Regions from separate parts of the Homo sapiens genome. Here regions 2 and 3 are each linked to region 1. The links are contacts of gene promoters, found by promoter capture Hi-C in human tissues and cell types (Jung and others, 2019). All regions are on one chromosome and are shown on one strand. The core of a region is centred on a gene start or on the middle of the fragment in contact, and the rest is flanking DNA. Distances in the headings are between cores, read along the strand shown.

What was found. The method cuts DNA at HindIII sites, captures the fragments that hold promoters and counts their contacts. A contact is called where the count stands out against the background at its distance.
Region 2: the fragment with the promoter of TRIP6 here is called in contact with the fragment with the promoter of PCOLCE in region 1 in 1 of the 25 tissues and cell types used here (IMR-90 fibroblasts).
Region 3: a fragment that was not itself captured here is called in contact with the fragment with the promoter of PCOLCE in region 1 in 2 of the 25 tissues and cell types used here (IMR-90 fibroblasts and spleen).

Annotation. Positions count from the first base shown.
Region 1 is chr7:100,598,880-100,603,641 of GRCh38, reverse strand. It overlaps PCOLCE (procollagen C-endopeptidase enhancer), which reads right to left and starts at 1,279. Exons shown (of 9, transcript NM_002593.4): 1 at 1,091-1,279; 2 at 104-212. The coding sequence starts at 1,185. FBXO24 (F-box protein 24) reads right to left here. Exons shown (of 10, transcript NM_033506.3): 9 at 3,441-3,611; 10 at 2,525-3,108. The coding sequence ends at 2,743. PCOLCE-AS1 (PCOLCE antisense RNA 1) reads left to right here. Exons shown (of 9, transcript NR_038910.1): 2 at 476-1,302; 3 at 1,959-2,022; 4 at 2,790-2,919; 5 at 3,453-3,602; 6 at 3,840-3,971. RefSeq lists an enhancer at 1-170. The HindIII fragment of the contact is 8,861 bases long and covers 1-3,599 here.
Region 2 is chr7:100,865,649-100,870,631 of GRCh38, reverse strand. TRIP6 (thyroid hormone receptor interactor 6) reads right to left here and starts at 3,245. Exons shown (of 9, transcript NM_003302.3): 1 at 3,026-3,245; 2 at 2,644-2,771; 3 at 2,399-2,524; 4 at 1,766-2,137; 5 at 169-262; 6 at 1-58. The coding sequence starts at 3,134. SLC12A9 (solute carrier family 12 member 9) reads right to left here. Exons shown (of 14, transcript NM_020246.4): 14 at 3,622-4,913. The coding sequence ends at 4,027. It overlaps MIR6875 (microRNA 6875), which reads right to left and starts at 2,596; the gene lies at 2,525-2,596. RefSeq lists an enhancer at 2,458-2,557 and silencers at 2,998-3,147, 3,508-3,597. The HindIII fragment of the contact is 16,493 bases long and covers 1-4,983 here.
Region 3 is chr7:100,881,328-100,886,112 of GRCh38, reverse strand. It overlaps SRRT (serrate, RNA effector molecule), which reads right to left. Exons shown (of 20, transcript NM_015908.6): 3 at 4,700-4,785; 4 at 4,308-4,454; 5 at 3,872-4,060; 6 at 1,874-2,043; 7 at 1,561-1,745; 8 at 1,275-1,373; 9 at 1,073-1,190; 10 at 743-900; 11 at 351-412; 12 at 172-250. Among named protein-coding and RNA genes, the nearest start is that of UFSP1, 6.0 kb to the left of the region's middle. RefSeq lists enhancers at 1-309, 4,333-4,785. The HindIII fragment of the contact is 4,538 bases long and covers 1-3,877 here.

The sequences.
Region 1 (4,762 bases), core at 30-2,529:
TTGAGAAGGTGGTGCGGGGGGGACGGGGGGGGGGTCCCTTCGCAGTCAGGCCTTTTTGCCTCTGAGACTTTAACAAGGGGTAGTGCCCAGAGGGGTTTCTCACCGTTATGGTCCAGATGCACTCCTTATTAGGGGGGTAGAGGTTGGGGAACCCCTCACTTGCCACGTAACCTGATTCCCCCTTCACATCCCCTCCGCACAGGAACACGGGTCTGGAGAACAGAAAAGGGGTCAGGAAAGAGCAGGGACGGGTGGGACGGGGGAGCACTGGCAAGATGGGGATGAGGTGATGAGGATGAAACTCCAAGGAGGGAAGCTGGGGGATGAAATGGAAAGGCCTTGAGAGACCTGGGGCAGCTTCCACCAGCCAGGACAGGGCTGGGGTGTCCCAGACTCCCACAAAGATAAGGGAAAAGTGGGCCTGGCAACTCGACCATCCCTCCAACCCCAAGAGTCCCCACCCCCACCCCAACAGGAATTCCCGGAATCCTCCTCGGCCCCCCTTCCAGACTCCCGCCTCACTCTGCCTGGCAGTCCAGGGACAGGAGCCGCCTAACTACTTCCAGATGTGGACACAGCCACGAGGCGGTGGGGGGGAGGGGGTGGAGAGATGGAGGGAGCTGCAGTGGCGATGGCCCTCTGATTGAACCTGGAGGCCAGGCTCCGCGAGCTCCACACCTTAGCCCTGCCCCTGTTCCAAACTACTTCAGATTCTGACTCCCAAGTCTCCACTCACTGCCCCCTCCTCCCCCTACAATCCCTCTCGAATTCCTTCCTGGAATCCAGCTACCAGGCAAGTTCAGGAGCTTGGCTCTCTCTTGGGTTCTATGGGGGGTCAAGGATCTGGGTGGGTGGGGAGACTTAAGAGACCAGAGGACGAAGGTGGGGGAATGGGAGCAGTGGTGGCCTGCAGGAGACCAAGGTCTTGCAGCAGATGGGGAGGATTTGGGGGCCAGAGAAGGGTGAGGCGGTGGGGAATCTGGGGAGTGGTGTGTCAGCAAGGGAACCCAAAATATCTCCAGGCATAACCCCAAAGGAATCGGGGGTCTGAAGTTCACTGGAGCTGTCTGGAAGATGCCAAGAGACCTACCTGGTGTAGTTGGGGGTCTGGCCCTGGGCAAAAGGCAGCAGGGCGCAGGCAGTGAGGAGGGGCCCCAGGAGGGAGGCTGTGGCTGCAGGCAGCATGGCCCCGGGGGAAAGGCGCTGGGGTCCTCAAGACAGAGGCAGCAGCTGAATTTTGCAGAGCAGCAGCAGCGGTGGCGGCAGCAGCAGGATAATCAGCGCCAGATGGGGCAGCCTTGGGTGTGTGGGCGTGGGGACTGGCCAGTGGGGCGGGCAATGGGGAAGGCGGGACAGTGGCGTGTCCTGGGACCTCTCTAGGTCTAGGACACATAAATGTTGACCTTAGGAGGGGGAGGAGCAGTGAGGGGCAGAGGCCGTCTCCCAGGCCTCAAGTAACGTCATCGGGAACCCCACTCTGTCCAGTGAGGGAGTATCTCCGGGAACTTCTGAGGACTCCCTAGCCCCCATCCTCCCCCCGCCCCTGCTTCCTCAGCTCAGGAGCCCTCATTGCTCACCCCCTGCCTGACCACCCCTGCCAGCTCATTTTCCACTTCAATTTCTTTTTTTTTTTTTTTTTTTTTTTGAGACAGAGTCTCATTCTGTGACCCAGGCTGGAGTGCAGTGGCGCGATCTCTGCTCACTGCAACCTCCGCCTCCCGGGTTCAAGCAATTCTTGTGCCTTAGCCTCCCGAGTAGCTGGGACTGCAGGTGCATGCCTCCACACCTGGCTAATTTTTGTATTTTTAGTAGAGGCAGGGTTTCAGCATGCTGTCCAGGCTGGTCTCAAATTCCTAGCCTCAGGTGATCCGCCCACCTCGGACTCCCAAAGTGCTGGGATTATAGGCGTAGCCACCACACCTGGCCTCCACTTCACATCTCCATTGCCTTCTCTCCAGACCTGGGCCAGACTAGGCCAAGGAGAAGGAATTCTCACCCATGACCTCTTCCAACTACTTGAAGGTACAGGAAGCAAGGCAGGAGGCATGGGGTGTGGATGAAGGGAGTGTCCTTGTTACTCAGGAAGAGGTGGAAGGAGTAGAAAATAGAGCCCAAACCTGGGAGGTAAACAGAAGGGAGAGAGGAGGGGGGCTGGCTTCAGGCCGAAGGGAGATGGGTGGGAAGCTTTCGGGGGTCAGGAGGAACAGGCTGCCTCAGGATGGGGACAAGTCTAGTGGGCAGGGGATCCCAGTGGGGTAGCCAAGAGCATCTGTGCATAGAGTTGTTCCAGAAGGTAGGGCCAGAACTTCCCAGTCCAAACGACCAGGTGTGCTCTTGGGAGCAGGGAGTGGACAACAATGTGAAGGGTTCAGGCAGCATCAGCTCTGCTGCACCTGAGACCTGGAGCTGCTTGTGCTGCCTGCCCCTGCCTGGGCTCCTGCCCTCCTGCACCCACCAAGCCGGGCACCCACCCACCCCATCCCTGCCCCTGTCCCTCCCAGCCCCCAAGGCTTCCACACCAGGCCTCGCTGCAGCCTTTTATTCTATCCATCAAATCTCTTGTCCATGATAGTCAGGTTGGGGGCCCCTCCTGGGCAGCCCCCTGAACATTCTTACCCTGGTTAGCCGTCCCCACCCCCTAGCAACCCCTTCCCACACGCATGTGCACAATGGTCATTGCTCCTTAGTCCCTGGCCTGGGGCCGGACTCCCTCCTCCAGGGACTAGGCTAGCATGAGGGGGATTAGGTCTCAGGGGCTGGGGGCCCTACACCACCCCCGCCTCCTTCAGCCCTCTGCAGCATGTCCAGGGCCTCCCAGAAGAAGTCCTTCTGTGCGGCCATCAGGGGCATCCACCCTACGATCTCCTTCATCTTCTCCGTGCGGTCCTGCAACGTTTGGCAACTGTGGATCTGGCTGAGGTACTCCTCGCAGGCCTGGGCCATCCCCCCGGGGTCCTGGGGTGCTCTGGCCCCCAGGCTGGGCTCAGGAGTCCCCACCACCCTGCTGGCTGGCAGGTGGCGATAGGGGGCGTGCTGCTCAATGTCGTGGCTGGACAGGATGTATAGGCACTCCCTGGTGGCACAGAGGGCACAGGCACACAGAGGGACCTTGGAGGAGGAGAGAAAGGGGGCATGGCTGAGTGGTGCTTTCCTTGCAGGGTTTCCCAGGGTGCCCGGGCTAATCTGCCTATTGCATTCTTCCCTCTCACACCAGCCCTGAGCCGGCTAAGTCCCAGGGGTGTGTGAGGTTGGGCAAGGCCAGCACAGTCTGCTAAGGGAGAAAGCAGAGAGCGTGGTGTGCGGCAGAGGAGGGAGGTGGGGTGGTGCTAGGGAAATGGGACCCCCTGGGTCCCTGCAGGAGCCCCAGCTACAGCCTGTGGGCTTCCTGGTTCATGGCTCTCATCCTCCCTGGGTGCCCACTCTCCTGACCCCGCTCTGACCTTGACTTGGAGCTTGACGAAGGAGGCACTCCCCTTGGGCCAGCCTGGGAGGCGGCCCCCAGCCCCACAGCCGCAGCCCAGCAGCTCCTTGCTGAACTCTGAGCTCTGGCTCAGCACCAGGGAGTGGTTGAGGCCGCACCACAGGGTGATGGGCCGCTGCAGGTAACAAACCTGGGGACACACGGCCAGGGTCCCTGAGCAGGGAGCACCAAGGGACGGGGGGGCTGGGGTGGGAAAAGGTTGACTGGAAGGCTCGGGGCAGAATGAACTGGGGAGGAGGAAATGGGAGCCAGCACTGTCCCACGCCCCAGGTCTGCCCTGCTGACCCCTGCAGCCCCCATACTCTAACTGGTCACATAGGGTCTTGCACTTCTGTTGGTATCTCATCTATGCCCCCAGAAAATCAGCTCCTTGCCTGAGCCCAGGGCCTGCTGTGGTGTACCCCTCATTCTCAGCCCACCCGTCTATGCCAGTCCAGCCTCTCATCCTGCCTGCCAGCCTCGGGGAGACTTGCTTCTTGTGCAATTCCAGGTTAGACCCCAACACCACCCTGAGGAAGGACTTTCCCTTCCACTATCCCTCCCTTCCTGCTCTAGTATTATCTTTTCTTTCTTTCTTTCTTTTTTTTTTTTTTGTTTGAGACAGAGTCGGAAGGCTGGAGTGCAGCAGTGCGATCTCGGCTCACTGCAACCTCTGCCTTCCTGGGTTCAAGTGATTCTCCCACCTCAGCCTCCCAAGTAGCTAGGACTACAGGTCCTTGCCACCACACCCATCTAATTTTTGTATTTTTAGTAGAGAAGGGGTTTTGCCATGTTGACCAGGCTGGTCTCGAACTCCTGACCTCAGGTGATCTGCCTGCCTTGGCCTCCCAAAGTGCTGGGATTACAGGCATGAACCACTGAGCCCAGCCTCCACTCTAGCATTTTTATTTTCTCTTTTCTTTTTTTAGAGATGGGGTCTCATTCTGTTGCCCAGGCTGAAATGCAGTGGTGCAATCATAGCTCACTGCAGCCTTGACCTCCTGGGCTCAAGCCATTCTTCTGCCTCAGCCTCCTGAGTAGTTGGGAATACAGGCATGTGCCACCACACCCGGCATGTGCCTATAATTTTTAAATTTTAAATTTTTAAATTTTCTATAGAGATAGTGTCTCACTATGTTGCTCATGGTGATCTCGAACTCCGGGCCTCCCACCTCAGCCTCTAGCATTTTTTTTTTTTTTGTAGAGACGGAGTCTCGCTCTGTTGCCCAAGCTGAAGTGCAGTGGCACGATTTCAGTTCACTGCAACCTCCGCCTCTCCAGTTCAAGCAATTCTCCTTCCTC
Region 2 (4,983 bases), core at 1,996-4,495, 270 kb before region 1:
AGGGCCACAACCCCAGCCCCATCCCCAACCACATCTTCTCCGCAGCCACCACACTGGCCTGAGGACAGGGAGAAACAGCATCAGTCTTCACAGACCCAGGAAGCCACTGTCCCCTCTGTCTCCCAGCCTCCCTTCCCACGTCCCACCCACCCCACAGCCTCAGCTCACCAAAGTACTCCCCGCTGGGCGGGTGGTTCATGTCGTGAACCAGCTTCTTCGTCAGCCTATCCAGCTCATCCTCTGGAGGCTGGCTCAGGGGCACCTGGAAGGTGGGAATCGGGCTCGGTCCTACTCTAGCTCCTGATGCTGTAATACCAGGGCCCTCAGCCGCCAGGCCATGGCCTGTTAGGAACTGGGCCACACAGCAGGAGCTGAGCAATGGGCAAGCAAAGCTTCATCTGTATTTACAGCTGCTCCCCATCACTTGCATTACCGCCTGAGCTCCACCTCCTGTCAGATCAGCAGCGGCGTTAGATTCTCATAGGAGCATGAACCCTATTGTGAACTGTGTGTTCGAAGGATGTAGGTTGCAAGCTCCTTATGAGAATCTAATGCCTGATGATCTGTCACTGTCTCCCATCACCCCCAGATGGGACTGTCCAGTTGCAGGAAAACAAGCTCAGGGCTCCCACTGATCCTACATGATGGTGAATTGTATAATTGTTTCGGTATATATTACATTGTAATATACATTGTAATATATACCGAAACAATTATATATACTATATATTCTATTATTATTATAACAGAAATAAAGTGCACAATGAATGTAATGTGCTTGAATCATCCTGAAACCATCCCCCTCCCACCCCCTCCCATCCCCCTCCCCAGTCCATGGAAAAATTGTTTTCCCCAAAACTGGTCCCTGGTGCCAAAAAGATTGGGGACTGCTATAATGTCTCTGAAGGTGGCCAGGCAGTTCCAGCTAGAAAGCTCATCTGAGAACATCTCAGCCCAGGGGCCCGTAGGCAGTTCTTTTTTTTTTTTTTTTTTTTTTTTGAGACAGAGTTTTGCTCTTGTTGCCCAGGTTGGAGAGCAGTGGTGCGATCTCGGCTCACCGCAACCTCCACCTCCCAGGTTCAAGTGATTCTCCTGCCTCAACCTCCCGAGTAGCTGGGATTACAGGCATGTGCCACCATGCCTGGCTAATTTTGTATTTTTAGTAGAGACGAGGTTTCTCCATGTTGGTCAGTGTGGTCTCGAACTCGTGACCTCAGGTGATCCACCCACCTCAGCCTCCCAAAGTGCTGGGATTACAGGCATGAGCCACCGCGCTCAGCCCCAATGGGCAGTTCTATCCTGCTCCCCCGCACTGCCCTGCCCTTACCTATTCCACGTCCCAGACCTCTGACTCTGCTCCAAAACCAGCCCCTTGGCCAGGCGCGGTGGCTCAGGCCTGCAATCCCAGCACTTTGGGAGGCTGAGGCAGGCGGATCACCTGAGGTCGGGAGTTCGAGACCAGCCTGGCCAACAAACTGGGGTTTTAGTGAAACCCCGTCTGTACTAAAAATACAAAAATTAACCAAGCGTGGCAGCGTGTGCCTGTAATCCAGTTATTCAGGAGGCTGAGGCAGGAGAATCACTTGAACCCGGGAGGCAGAGGTTGCAGTGAGCCAAGATGGCACCACTGCACCCCAGCCTGGGCAAACAAGAGCAAAACTCTGTCTCAAAAAACAAAAAAGCCCCCTAAAACACCACCAGCCACCCCACCCAGTCGGTGTCCCATTGTCTGTAGGGCCTGAAATCCCAGTTCCCCAGGGCTCACCTGGGGCCCGTGCTCGCCTCCTCTTCCTCTTCCTGCAGGGCCAGAGACCCCAGCAGCTTCCTCTTTGGCCCCTGGCCCTGGCTCTCTCTGGCTCCTATAGCCAGGCCCCCAGACTTCACCTCGGCCTGGGAGAGGAAAGTGGGGGCCCGGGAGGGGCCCAGAGGCCTGAGAGGCTCCCCGCCTGGGTGGGCCGCAGCCCCTCACTGGCTGTGCCACCTTCACTTGCACGGGGAAGGCTGGGCCAGCCGGGGTGCTGGCGGTAGTGTAAGAGGCTGGAGTGGGGCCCCCATAGGGAGACGCTGGGAGCGGCGAGGCTGGATTTGGCTTCAGGGAGCCCGTGCGGTAGGCAGGAGGTGGCGGGGGCTCATATGCCTGAGGAGAAACGCAGGCCAGAAGTCGTAAGCAAGGACCCCACTCCAAGACCCACATTTGTGGAAATGACCCTGGCTGTGGGGAAGCACAGGCTTTTTGCATTTGACAAGGTCCCGTCCTCAAGTGGCTGACATGTTGGTACTTGCAGCCACGCTTCCTCCATGCTGGGGTGCACATTACACACATGGGGGATCGATCAGGCTGGGTCTGAGAGTCCAGAGAAGGGGGCAGGGTGCTGACGGGGAGGAGGGGCAGAGTCACCTGTCGGTCTGGTCGCCGTGACGCATGACCCCGACCCCCATTCAGCTCGGCCAGCGTGCTGCTCAGCAAGTCTATCTCGGCGTCCAGGCTTCCAGGGCGAAGGCCCCCCCTGTCTGCAGGGAGCCCCTGAGGATGGAGCCAGGGCAGGAAGAATGCAAATCACCATAGGCCTTCTCCTGTCCTGGGTCCCTCAGACTCGGTTCTGGGGGATCCCACATGTCCCACCCCACGATCCCGGGTCTCACCTGCGTGTGCTGGAGTACTCCATGGGACCCCACCCACGCCGGCCCCCGATCCTCCGGTCCCCCTGGGGCCTGGTAACACTGCTCAGATGGAAGGGGGCAAAAATTGACCCTGGGGTGGGGCTGGAGTGCTGGGTTGAGGGAAGAGAAATCAAAGGTGGGGTGGCGGAGGACAGGAGGGGTGTATATTTGAGGAGCCACCCTCTCCGCCTCTCGTTACCTCCTCCCCCAAATCTAGGGTCCCAAGAGAGCGCAGGCGGCTGTTCCCCCCGCCTCGGCTTGGGGAAGGGGCAGGAGGAAGCAGCCAGGGCGGGAGGCTGGAGCGGTAGGACAGAGGTGAGCGCCACAGCTGGGTGGCTCTTCTGTCTCACAAGGGCTGCCTTACCTGCTCCGTGGGCCGGTGGTGGCCCCGGGGTGCCGCGGGGGATCGCCCTCCCCTGAGGGGCTCTGGCGGGCTCCGGCTGCTTCGGGGGCAGCCAGGTGGGCCCCGACATGGCCTGGAAAGGGGGACTCCAGACAGCGGTCTTGAAGCCCCGAGCCTCTGGCCTTCACCCCCTCTTCCGTCCCGCACCTCGTTTGGGACTCCAGAAAAGAAAACTTTTTCTGGCTTTTTTTTTTCCTCTTCCTCCCTAATTTTGGGGACGACCACGCCTCCGATGACGTCACCACATTCCTGGGGGAGGGTCACGTGGCCCCCTAGGCCCTAAACTGCCATTTCTCCCTGAGTCAGCCCCCTCCTGCCGAGAGGGGAGGGCTCTCCGGGGGATCCCGAGTCACTGGGGGTTGCGGGCAGCTGGGGATGGGAGGTGCGGGCCCGAGCCAGCCTCCAAGTCCACGGATGCGTCCGGGCCCCGCACCCCAGCCCTGCACGTGGCAGCCTCGCGGCGGGAGGCTGAAGGCTCCGATCTCCACCCCTCTGCAGAGCTCTCCATTCCCACCCCCTCCCTCTCAGCTACCCACCAGCACTGCTCAGCCAGCCTGTAGTGTTTTGGTCTTTTATTCATGGTCAGCAGAGTTAGAAAAATAAAACAGAACGAAAACATCACCACCCCAGTGGGCCGGTGAGTCTGGCCAAAATGGGGAAACTGAGGTAGCCCAGAGTCACAGAGGAGGCCTGGCCCCTAGCATCAAGGCACCAGTGAAGGGAGGCTGCGGACTCCCTCCCCTGCACGGTGGGGACAGCCACCCAGAGTTAGTGTGCTGGGGTCCCTCTGCCAAAGGAGGTGGGCGTGATGCCCAAGCCCAGGATCCCCTTCAAACCTCCCCTGGGCTCCACGTCCCAAGGGCAGGGCCACGGGCCACAGTGGCCTCCTCTTCCTCCTCCTCCAAGGATCAGGATAGGCCGCCTGCCTGGGCCCTCTCTACCTAGCCCTGGAGGCAGGGGCATCACAGATCAGTGCAGGTGACTGGAGTGACCCCATGAACCAGCAGCGTGGGGCCCAGGTCTCGGGTTAGAGTCTCCAGTAGCGCCAGGTAGCGGGGGTATCGGGCGGGATCGGCTGGCGGCCGAGGCAAGTACAGGAAGGTGAGGGCTGTGATGGGGCCCTCAGCATCCCCACCCTCCGGCCCACCCGGCCCTCCTCCTGTGCCGCGCCCCTGCTGGGCCCGAACCAGGGCGTTGGCGCTGCGTGCCAGGGCCTCTGCCTCTGCGTCTCCCCGCCCACTGTTCACAAAGTCCCCTTCCTCCTCCGCCTCGGGTTCCCCAGCCCCGGCCCCCTCGCCCCACACCACCTCCTGCACCTCAGCCCGGATCCTCAGTTGGCTCAGCAGTGCCCGCAGCCGCCCCTCGGCCGCCCCAGGCGCCTCCCGAGGCCCCAGGCACAGGAAGATCCGGAGCCGGGCGCTATGCCAAGCGGGCACCATGCCCAAGATGGTTGCCATCTGCAGCAGGAAGAGGCCGCAGACATCCACATAGCCGGGCCCACCCCGGGGCCGCAGCAGGTTGAGGGGCCACACGTCCACATGGTGCAGCTGAGAGGTGCCCCCAGACCCCCGGCTCAGCCGCTCAGGGGGCAAGGCCCCGCTGGCCCGGGCCAGCACCACATTCTTGTTCATCTTGAGGGCGTCGGCCACCGTGGCCACATAGTCCTGGGGATTGAGGGCCCGGGGGCTCCCAGGAGCCCGGGGAGGAGGGAACAGGGTGCTCAGAGCTGGGGAACTGCCCTCCCTGGTGCTGTCTGCAGGCTCAGAGAAAGCCGGGTCCGTCAGGAAATGGTCCTGCGGTGGAGCGTCATCGTAGAAACCTAGGACCAACGTGTTGGGCTTCATGCCACCTGGGGGCAGAGCGGGGAAGGCAGGAACAGACAGGAGTCAGGCTCACAGGCTAAGTTTACACCACGCTCC
Region 3 (4,785 bases), core at 359-2,858, 280 kb before region 1:
GTTCCGTCCATGCTAACGCCCTAGAGCCTTGCCCAGAGACAACGTAGCCAGACAAAACGGTCAAAGAGTGTGCAGAACAACCAAACTATCAGATGAACAAAGTCACACAGAGGTCCCGTGTGGCACAGAGTCTCCCTTCCTCTTCCCCACAGTCCCACCCCCAGCACTCACACGGATGTTCTGCAGGTTCCAACAGATCTCTTTAATGTTAACACTGCGGTCGAAGGTCACCCAGCCACGACGGAAAAACCTACACAAGAAAGAAAATGTTAGCATAGTCAAGCGAGGGAGTTGGTGTTGGCCATTAACGTTCCCCTGCACTTTTCCCTCCAACGCACCGAGTTACTCACCTCCTCTCTGGCTGGGGCTCTGAGAGCGCCACCCGCATAAAGCCTGGGTACCTTTTACAAAGCTGCAAGAAGCAGAAAAGCAGCCCCACAGTGACTCAAGGATTCATTCGCTTCTTCCTCCAATCCCCCACTGCCCTCAGAACCCTAGGGACTAACTGCCTTATCACTCTTCCCATCCTTGGGCAGGGAAAAACCACTAAAGGGCTTCAGAACACCAGCACCTGAAAGCCAATGGCGCTATCAGGACTAGTCCTCGGAGGCCATGGAACCTGGGGAAGGGGCCTCCCTAGCAGGTGAAACGGGGGCATCTGTCACAGGCAGGGCCCCACTGCCTTCCCTCTACCCTCCACTTCTCCATCAGCCCTGCCCTGACTCCACGGGTCCCCACTCACGGAGATGATCTCGGCCCGGGAGATGTTGGGCGCGATGTTGCGCATGAAGAGGGAGCAGGTCTTATGCAGCGGCCGCGGCTTGCACTCCAGCCCCGCGGCGTCCTTGGGCTTCTCCCATTCTTCTTCCTTGGGCTTCTCCTTCTCCTTGAGCGCTTCTTCTAGGCAGGAAGGGGGGTAGGAAGGAGTTGGTGCATTTTTATTACTGATTGTGGTGGGGAGGATACAGAAGCTTTCCCCTAAAAGCCACCCACCCTCCCGTCAATGTCGCCAACCTCTCACCTCCCCACCCGCATTAGGAGAACGCACTTTAAAGCAGAAAAGAAACCCTACCGGCCTCCTCCTTCTCCTCCTCAGCCTGGCCGCTCTCTGACTCCGACTCAGACTCTGACACGCTGCCCTCGTCAAAGCTGTCGTCACCACTGTGCTTCCGGTTCCGCTTCTTGCTACTCTGTGTGAGCCACAGCAGAGGGGACAAGTCAGCGTGCCAGAACCCCAGCCCCAACACTCTGACCCCAGGCCACAGACACCTCACCTTTTTGGCTTCCTTCTCGGAGTCTTCTTTCTTCTCTTCCTTGTCCCCATCACCCTCCGACTTCTTTGTTTTGTCATCATTAGAACTGTCATTCTCAGCCTATGGTAAGAGACAACCACTGGGGATGTCAAACCTCCCCTCCCACCTTTATCAGAGGGCCCCCACCCCCACAGCTGAGGCCACAGGTTCATTTTCCCCAGCCCCCTACTTCTAGCTCCTATGGACCCCTACCCGCCCCCCTCCCCCAGGCTGCCAGGGACAACACTAGGAGACCCAGGGCTCGGACCTGCTTGCCGTCTTCCTTCTTCTCATCCTTGTCGTTGGTTTTGCGCTCCCCGTCCCCTAGGCCTGCTCCAGCCCGTCCTTCTTCTTTCTTGCTGGGCTCCCCAGGCTTTCCTGCCTGCTCCTCCTCCTCCTCCTGCTCCAGGATGCGAAGATCATTCTCCGTGCCTCCTTCCATCTTAATCACGGCTACCAACAAAGGGAACAGAGGTCATGACCCCAGGGCCCTGGCTCCTGTCAACCGGCTTCTACCTGATCCCCAGACACCCCCACCCCCATGGGGCCCAGATGCCTGCCACCCCTCCAAATCCGCACACCTGCATCCAGCATCTTGACAATGGCATCAGCTTTGTCTATGTCCAGGAGAAGGTTATCAAACCAGCCAGTCTCCATGAGGGACAGGAAGACCCTCAGTCGGTTTTGCAGGGCCCCCCGGGCCTCCTGCCGACGCTTCCCCACCTCATCTGGGTGGTACTTAGACCGAAACCTGGGAACGAAGCGGGGGAGGGAAAGACAAAACAGTTATTGGAAGCCAAGGCCAGGATGTGGGAAGGGGCCCAGGAAAGACAGGGCATATCCCCCTTCCTCTCACAACCACAAAAGGTCATCAAAATAGAGAGATTAAGGGATAGGGGTGCGCTAGAACCACCCAACACCCCAAAAGGAACCAGAAGTTGTGTTCTGTGAAGATTTGGGGGAGAACCAGGAACTAAGAGCTCTGGATTTGGGAAGACCAATGACTACAGGGGGACGCCAGGGTAGGAGAGGCAGATTTACCACTTTAAATCTCTGGGAAACACTAACGTAGTAAAAAGGTGTCATTTCCCAAAGCTTCAGAGAGGAAGGCTCAGGAAATAGCAGGCCCTGAAGAACCTCCCTCTCCTCACCAACCCCAAACTGCAGTCATTCAAAAACTGCTCCCGCCAACTCCCTCCACCCCGAGGTGGAAGACAGAGGGCCAGATAGCAAAAGCCCAGAGGCAGGGCACCTTTCTCCACCCGTGGGAAGATAAGCAAGACGGTGAAGGGACAGGAAAGACCGAAGGGAGACACTGGAGTGCCCTTTAGAGCCTCAGGTCCTGCCCACAGGGGGAGAGAGAGGAGAGGGCTGGAAGGTTAGGGAGAAGAAAAATAAAACATTTCAAATAGGACCTCAGAGGGAAAACAGAAGAAATGAGGAGTATGAGGAAAAGGGGAAAGGGAGGAAAGGGGAGAGTGTGAGAAAGTCCCAGAAACCGAAAACAAAGGGAAAAACTAAAGATCAGAGAGAGAAACTAAAAAAACCAACAGGGAAGAAGGTGGTGTTAGGCAGGGAGCAAGAACAGAAACAGAGAAGAATGAAGGTGCTGAGAGATTAGGACAAAGACACAGAGCAATTCGAGAGAGGGGACAGCGAAGACAGAACAGAACCACGAGTGGGGCAGAAGAGGAAAGGAAAGCCGCAGGCATCACCTCCAGGATCTTTACCTTGGCCGCTTGGTCAAACAGAGCTCAAGATTTAACTAGCGGCGCCCAGGGCCCATGCTGGCTGGTGGGCCACCGGCTGGCTCCTGGCTGGGCGCCCGGCCGAGATGCCCACGCGGGACTCCGCAGTGGGGCCTGACTGGCTAGCTGCCTGAGCAATCACATTCAGCTAAACCGCTGCATTGTGCACAGCAGTGCCCTGGCCTGTCTGCCTGGCCGGGGCCGCGCAGCTCAGCCCAGGGGCTCATGTATGGGCTGGGTATGGTGGGGGTGGAGGTGGGTTTGCTCCGAGCTCCGTCGATGAGCGGGTGTAGTTCCCAGTTCTGGCTCTTTTCAAGGAGGAGGAGCAGAAAGAGGATGAGGAGGAGGAGGAGCAGGAAGGGGGGAAAAGATGGTTGATTAAAATTAAAACATCCACAAAAGGAAAAAAAAATTAAAATTCTTTTTCTGTCAAACGACCGAGATCTTTGCTTTTCTTGTCTGGATTCACTCGTCGCTTTAGGAGGACGCCACAGCCACACAGGGTCCTGGTGATCAGGGATGACAATGACCCAACACCAACAAGTGGGAAGCAGTCTGTCTGCTGCCCCAAGGGGCCAAGTGGCTCTGGCCTGCTGCCTGGAGGTGTCCCACTCTCTGAGGACAGCAGGACAGGAGACAGGGCGGGGCGGGGGCCGTGGCAGTTGCTGAAGTGAGGGGGAGACCCCATCAGCCAATGCTGTCATACTTCCCGACCCCCGCCCCCAGAAAGTTCTGGACAGGGAAAACTGGGAAGAGGACAGGGCTGTGGCTCCACCAGCGGGGCCAGGGGGACATGCCAGGGCAGAGGTCCAGGGAAGTAGGGGCACTCACCACTCCTCATCTTTGTGCGCCAGGAAGAAATCCTGCATCTGTTGCCTCCGGAAATCCAGCTTGTAGTCATTATAGCGCTTGACGGCCTCCGTCTCATCCACCGAGTCATCCAGGGAGAGGAGAAACTCCTTGAAGGTCTTCATCACGGGCGGCGGCACACCCAGGTCAATCTCTGCAATGCTGCCCAGCCTGGAGGGGACCCCGGTCAGGAAGGCTTGGTTTTTGGGGAACGGTGGGAGGCTACAGGGGCCAAAGTAGCTGGGGCCCCTTTACTTTGTCCACCATGGACATCACCCCAAACCCCAACAGCTACCACCCCTACCCCAGGGACATGCCTCTGTGTGCCTGACCCGCTCCCTGGCTTCAGCCATGGCCTTCAGCAACCCCATCCATCCCCCAGGCCTACCAACCCTCTTCTGAGAAGCCCCACCCTTACCTGGCCTGGATAGGCAGGACATGGTGCTGCATGATGTGGACGTCAGGGTGGCCCCAGGGCTGAGGGGGGCCATAAGTTGGGCCCCCACCCCCCCCAGCATAGGGCATCTCATAGCCACTGTGGTATGGGTCAGAGCTGTGCTCATCCCTGAAGGTGGGGGACACAAAAGTAAAGCAGAGAAGGGAGTCACCTCCCCAGAGCATGGAGGATGGACAGACGGGGGTACACACAGCATGGTCTCCCAGACAAGGGTTTCAAGGGACAAAGTAACGATGGGTGATGGGAAGTTGAGAAAAGGAAATGACAAAGATTTAGGCACAGGTGAGGGGAGAAAGGGGAGGCCCAGGTGGAACTGAGGCAAAGGGGAGGAGAGGGAAACCGCTCCATCTCACCAGTCTCTCCTCATGCGCTTCTGTGGCGGGCTGAGTTCGTGGCGAGGTGGCGAGAAGCGCTCTCGCCGATTCCGGTCATAGTCCCG